2 separate regions of the Homo sapiens genome follow, and region 1 is linked to region 2. The links are contacts of gene promoters, found by promoter capture Hi-C in human tissues and cell types (Jung and others, 2019). All regions are on one chromosome and are shown on one strand. The core of a region is centred on a gene start or on the middle of the fragment in contact, and the rest is flanking DNA. Distances in the headings are between cores, read along the strand shown. Region 1 has its middle 220 kb from the start of TFAP2C. Region 2 holds the start of FAM209B (family with sequence similarity 209 member B).

The links. The method cuts DNA at HindIII sites, captures the fragments that hold promoters and counts their contacts. A contact is called where the count stands out against the background at its distance.
Region 1: a fragment that was not itself captured here is called in contact with the fragment with the promoter of FAM209B in region 2 in 4 of the 25 tissues and cell types used here (aorta, mesenchymal stem cells, mesendoderm cells and 1 more).

Annotation. Positions count from the first base shown.
Region 1 is chr20:56,848,653-56,851,933 of GRCh38, reverse strand. No RefSeq gene overlaps it. Among named protein-coding and RNA genes, the nearest start is that of TFAP2C, 220 kb to the right of the region's middle. RefSeq lists a silencer at 3,220-3,281. The HindIII fragment of the contact is 7,669 bases long and covers 1-3,281 here.
Region 2 is chr20:56,531,170-56,534,874 of GRCh38, reverse strand. It overlaps FAM209B (family with sequence similarity 209 member B), which reads right to left and starts at 1,629. Exons shown (of 2, transcript NM_001013646.4): 1 at 1,285-1,629. The coding sequence starts at 1,533. It also overlaps a transcript of FAM209A not described here. The HindIII fragment of the contact is 6,468 bases long and covers 1,066-3,705 here.

The DNA of each region.
Region 1 (3,281 bases), core at 593-3,092, 320 kb before region 2:
TAAAAAACATTTTTAATTACCTAAAAATTAAACTCTGAATAGCAAATAAAAAAGTATAAGCAAGTTGAAAAATAACTAAATTGGGGAAATATGAAAAAGGTGACAAACATATTGTGTAGAGCCTTAATATGTAAAGAGTAATTGCTAATCAATAACAGACAGTCAAATATACTAATAGGATGTAAACAAGCAAATACTTAAACAAGAGATACAAATGACAAAGGTACATGAAAATATAACCACTTCAATTAATTCAATGCCCACCACATTGTAGATGTTCGGTAAAATAGTTGTTTGTATGTGAATCTGTCCTGAGTCACATAATATAAGCTCACTGAGCCCTTATCTGGAGATCCAGAGAGTTAGGACAAGAACAAAGCTCAGCTCTGTTCCCAGGCCTGCAGAAAGTCACTGCGGCAGCCACTGAAGAAGTCCTTGCCACTTACTAGCTGTGTGACTTTGGCAAGTTCCTTAACTTCTCTTTGCCTAAGAAGTTGAGTAAATGAGAATAAACAGGGATAGTAATAATGCCTACCTCATAAGACTGTTGCAAAGATCAGCAAGTTAATACACGTAAAGTACTTAGAACAGCGCCTAGCTCATCAAAAAGACTCAACTGCAAAGTTCAGAAATAAAGCTAATTGGGAAGCAAGGAAACACCCATCCATTCATTGATCCGCTCATTCAACAGTTAGTCAGTGCCTAGCATGTGCCAGGTATTAGCATGGCTGTGATGGATGCTCATGCCACAATAAGACAGAAACTGAAGCAATCACAGTAAATGAGAAATGATCTCTGTTAGGGAAAACACCTTGTTGGTGAAGGAACCCCAGACTGGGTGCCTGACCTAGTCCCTCCTCAGGGGGAAACGTTCGGGAGAAGGAGCTTTTAGAACTGAGCCCTGAAAGTTAAGTAGGTGTTTTCCAAGAGAAGAATGTTCCAGGCATAAAAAGCAGTCAAGCAAACTCTCAGATGTGCAAGAGAATGCAAAACAATTTCAGTCCATGTCTTCTCACAGTGTAGACCTGTCATTAAGGGGGTGGGTTTGGAGTCAGACTGTCCAAAGTACATCCAGGCTCTACCAACTTTCCTGTGTGGTGTGTGTGTATGTGTGTGTGTGACCACAGACTCTTGCTCGGTTTTTCTCTGTCTCAGTATTCTCACCTGTAAAATGGGGATAAAAGTGGTTTGTCTCCTGGGAGTTGAGAGGTTTGCTGATTTCAGACATGTGACACACCTATCACGGGGCTGGCATGTCAGGAAAGCACTGGACAGGCCACTAGGCTGGAAAGATGACCTTTGGAGGACATTTTAAATCAGGTGTAAACTGACTCCTAAAGGCCACTGCTCATAAGTGAGGAATTTCCACAACCAGAAGCTGGCCTTCTCAAATCACCCTCGGGATGATTCTAATTCAAGGTTTCTCAGCTACCTCACTTCACTGTCAACATTTAGAGCCAGATTATTCTTTTTTTTTTTTTTTTTTTTTTTTTTTTTTGAGACAGAGTCTCACTCTTGTTGCCCAGGCTAGAGTTCAATGGCATGATCTTTGCTCACTGCAACCTCTGCCTCCCGGGTTCAAGCAATTCTCCTGTCTCAGCCTCCCGTGTAGCTGAGATTACAGGTGCCTGCCACCAAGCCTGGCTAATTTTTATATTTTCAGTAAAGGCGTGGTTTCGCCATGTTGGCCAGACTAGTCTTGAACTCCTGACCTCAAATGATACACCCACCTCAGCCTCCCAAAGTGCTGGTATAATGGGCGTGAACCACCGTGCCCGGCCAAGCCAGATTATTCTTTAACTTGGGGTAGGCTAGGGGTTGTCCCGGGCACTGTAGGATGTTCAGCAGCATCCCTGGCTTTACCCCAGCTGCCAGTATTGAGCGCACCACCACCACCACCACCACCACCACCAACAACAACGACCCAGTTTTGATCACCAAAACTGTCTCCAGGCATTGCCAAATGCCTCCTGTGGGCAAAACCACCCCATTAGGATCCATTCCTCCAAGCCAGTGCAGGATCTTCTGGGAAAAGCCCAGCTTGGTAGGGTAGTCCCTTCTACATCAGAAAGAAATGACCACAGTGGCGATCGACTGCTCACTGGATGTCCACAGGCCAAATTCAAGCCTCACATGTGTTTTCTTTGACCCAGGAGACATTTAACAATCTCCTTCAATGGGCTGACAATAGATTCTTAAAAATCAAGCCATTTCACATAAAAATCCAGCTTTCTGGCTTCTCTTGAAAAATGAGGATTCCTGGTAACACTGGATCCGCATTCCTCATGCAGCAGCAACGAGGTTGCATCTGCTGCACTCAGGGATACAGGCTTCCTGTTTGCCACAGTCCTCGGCACTCTATACCATATGTGCCCTATATTTGAAGGACCAGAGTCACTTTCTCTCTATCCCATCCCATTTTCACATTTATACAACCTTGCTGGCGGCTGAACATGTTTGAATTGAGATCTCCTGATCTAATGTGCTTGCCTGCACACACACACATTTGCACACATTACATATACACATGCACACAACCATATAAATATATAAACACATACACATGCGCACACATGCACATGAGTATACATATAACAACATGTATACACACATAGGCATACATGCATAGACACATAAATGCACATACACACCTACATATATACGCCTGCACACATGCACACACACATATACATGTGCACACATGCATACATGCATGTACACACATATACACATACACACGTGAACACTACCTACACATATGCACACACATACATATGCACACAAACGAATATACACATACATACATACACACATGCATATGTGCACACACCTATGTGTATAGACATATCTATATGCACACACACATGCATGCACGCAGACTCTCACACCCACGCAGACCCCATGGCTCACCTCCGCCGTCCACTGCAGCCCAGGACACACAGCATCCCTGATGCACACACCTGGATGTCAGGCTCTGACCTTTGAAGTCACGACTCCCACCACGGGGGCCCTTTGCATGTCACGCTGGATTGATGGATGGGACAGCTCAGCTCTCAGAAACTACCGCGTGTGTTTATTATGGCAATGAGTGTGGGCCGGGCCTGCTTCTGGCTTGTGTAAGTGTCAACTGGTGACAACCTGTGCTCTACAGAAGGCAGATGTCAAGGGGCTGGGGGCAGTGGAGTCACCGCCCGCACTGTGGAGACCACCCAGAGGCAGCACTCACACTGGCCCTGGCTTCCCCGGCCTTTGGCGAGAAAACTAAAGGATGGAGAGGGAGA
Region 2 (3,705 bases), core at 380-2,879:
TCCATGTTGGTCAGGCTGGTCTCAACTTCCTGACCTCAGATGATCCGTCCGCCTCGGCCTCCCAAAGTGCTGGGATTACAGGCATGAGCCACTGGGCCCAGCTTTTTTTTTTTTTTTTTTTTTTTTTGAGACAGAGTCTCACTCTGTCACCTGGGCTGGAGTGCAGTGGCTCCATCTCGGCTCACTACCACCTCTGCCTCCAGGGTTCAAGTGATTCTCCTGCCTCAGCCTCCCGAGTAGCTGGGATTACAGGCGCCCGCCACTACGCCCAGCTAGGTTTTGTATTTTTAGTAGAGACAGGGTTTCACCATGTTGCCCAGCTGGTCTCGAACTCCTGACCTCGTGATTCACCCGCCTCAGCCTCCCAAAGTGCTAGGATTACAGGGGTGAGCCACCGCGCCTGGCCTAATTTCTGTATTTTTAGTAAAGACGAGGTTTCACCATGTTGGCCAGGCTGGTCTCAATCTCCTGACCTCAAGTGATCTGCCCGTCTCGGCCTCCCAAAGTTCTGGGATTACAGGCATGAGCCACTGTGCCCGGCCTACACCTTTATCTCCTTACAGAAGTTTCATATTTTGTTGGGATGATATCATTTCCATTTAGCTCAGGAATTTTCAGTAAGTCAAGCACTAGGAAAAATGTAAAAAGCAAGGGAACAGTGAATTTGGCCCTGTGAATAATATAATTTTGACCTTCTAAAACACACCATAAGTTCTTTATTTTGAGACAGAGTCTCAGTCGCCCATGCAGGAGTGCAGTAGTGTGATCTCAGCTCACCACAACCTCTGCCTCCAGGGTTCAAGCCATTCTTCTGCCTCAGCCTCCCGAGTAGCTGGGATTACAGACACACGCCGCCATGCCCAGCTAATTTTTGTATTTTTAGTAGAGATGGGGTTTCACCGTGTTGGCCAGGCTGTTCTCAAACTCCCGACCTCAGGCAATCCACCTGCCCTGGCCTCCCAAAGTGATGGGATTACAGCATGAACCACTGCGCCCGGCTGAGTTCTTGAATCTATCCTACATTTGAAAAAATCCATCTAACCAGAAGAACTTTGAGCCAAGAAACTAGAGGTCATCTTCCACTGTTTGTCCCAATATCTGTGGATGTGGGGACTATTGTCTTCACTAAGGATACATCAGGAAGTGAATTTGCCAGCTTTGCCCAGGACCATGAGGTCGGTTCATTATACCCAACGGTGCCGCCTAGACTCACTAGAACATCCGTTTCCCTGAGACTCCTGAGATTGAATCAATATGGTGTAAAAAAAATGGAGCCATCCTTACCTTATTCTTCTCACTGTCTCTTTGACACTGCAGTATCACAAACGGCACAACAGCAAACAAAAGCCAGAGCCATTTGCTCCCAAGCCAGCCTTGGGTGTGCTCTGGTAGGTTCTGCCGAATCCGAAAGTGCTCTCCACACGGCACCTTCCCCTGGGGTTCGCTAGTTTTCTGTCTCAGAGAAGAGAACATAAAGGCATAGCTGCAGGTGAGGCACAGAAGCAGGACCAGGGACGATTTCAGCGTCCACATGGTGAGCAGAGATGGGGAAGGGAGTTGCTCATGACGGGTTTGCTTGCCCTCGCAACTGGAAGACTGGGCACCTGGTGCCAGGCCCTTGGTGATGTCACAGAGGCCCTGAGCTGAGGCCACCCTGGCCATTGTGATGATTTCAGGACAGAGGTTACAGGTCACAGGAGTCGCCCGGGAGGAGGACTCAAAGGGAGATGGGGGCATTTCCAGCAGGCAGTCAGAGAGAGAGGATAGGCACGACGGGGTGCCAATTCCCTGCCAGGGGACTCTTTCCAACCCTCGAGCTTTTGCTGGTAGAGGCCGTCATGTTTCTGTTTTTCATTTGTTTGATCCAAACACTATGATGAGCAGAGGGAGATGCCATGTGCCCCGTGGAGCTGAGTTAAATGGGAGAGAAAGATATTAAACCACAGGCTACCTACAAACTCGGAGCCACCTATGTGTTTTGTTTGGCCTATGTTGTTTCTAAAAATTATTAGTCAGTACTTAAATGTTGTGGGGGGTGGGTATTTCACTTTAAAAGTCCAGGTTTCCGGCTTCCTTTGAAAATATGAGAGCGTGGCCGGGCGCGGCAGCTCACGCCTGTAATCCCAGCACTTTGGGAGGCTGAGGCGGGCAGATTACGAGGTCAAGAGATCGAGACCATCCTGTCCAACGTGGTGAAACCCCGTCTTTACTAAAAATACAAAAATTAGCTGGATGTGGTGGCACACGCCTGTAGTCTCAGCTACTTGGGAGGCTGAGACAGGAGAATCACTTGAACCCAGGAGGCAGAGGTTGTGATGAGCCGAGATCACGCCACTGCACTCCAGCCTGGCAACAGAGCAAGACTCTGTCTCAAAAAAAAAAAAAAAAAAAAAAGAAAAAGAAAAAGAAAGAAAAGAAAATATGAAGAGTTCTGGAAGCACTGGGCCCACACTGTCATAGAACCAGTCTTCTGCTAGAGCCAAGTGAAATCATCCATCCTGTGGCCATATTCCCTCCACAGTCCCCACCACTCCCTATTACCACATACCATCATTGACAGCAGCAGTGTGTGCCTGCCTTGGGTTAAGAGTATACTTTGGAGCCAGGCCTGGTGGCTCACACTTGTAATCCCAGCACTTTGGGAGGCCAAGGTAGGCAGATCACCCAAGGTCAGAAGTTTGAGACCAGCCTGGCCAACATGGTGAAACCCTATCTCTACTAAAAATACACAAATTAGCCAGGCATGGTGGCATGTGCCTGTAATCCCAGCTACTTGGGAGGCTGAGACGGGAGAATCACTTGAACCCAGGAAGTAGAGGTTACAGTGAGCTTAGATGGCGCCACTGCACTCCAGTCTGGGCAACAGAGCAGGGCTCAGTCTCAAAAAAAAAAAAAAAAAAGAAAAGAAAAGAAAAGAAAAGAAAAAAAGAGTATACATTGGGCCAGGCACAGGGGCAGGGGCTCACACCTGTAATCCCAGCACTTTGGGAGGCCAGGGTGGGCAGATCACCTGAGGTCAGGAGGAGTTCCAGACCAATCTGGCTAACATAGCGAGACCCCATCTCTACTAAAAATACAAAAATTAGCCAGGTGTGGCAATGCACGCCTGCAATCTCAGCTACTTGGGAGGCTGAGGCAGGAGAATCATTTGAACCTTGGAGGCAGAGGTTGCAGTGAGCTGAGATCAAGACACTCTACTCCAGCCTGGGTGACAGAGTGAGACTGTGTTTCAGAAAAGAAAAAAGAGTATAGTTCGATTAAAATTGTGGTAAGAGGCCGGGCACGGTGGCTCATGCCTGTAATCCCAGCACCTTGGGAGGGTGAGGTGGGTGGATCACCTAAGGTCGAGAGTTTGAGACCAGCCAAGCCAACATGGAGAAACCCCATCTCTACTAAAAATACAAAAAAATTAGCTGGGCATGGTGGTGCATGCCTGTAATCCCAGCTACTCGGGAGGCTGAGGCAGGAGAATTGCTTGAACCTGGGAGGCAGAGGTTGCGGTGAGCTGAGATTGTGCCATTGCACTCCAGCCTGGGCAACAAGAGCGAAACTCCATCTCAAAAAAAAAAAAAAAACAAAGAAAGAAGAAAAAACAATTGTGATAAGAACAGGAAGCTTTAGAGACGAGCACAAGGGGACTGCTCTATACTAGGTTATGCAGGAAGAGTGTCCAGAAAAAGATGGTTGAGTAGAGCAGGGGAGATG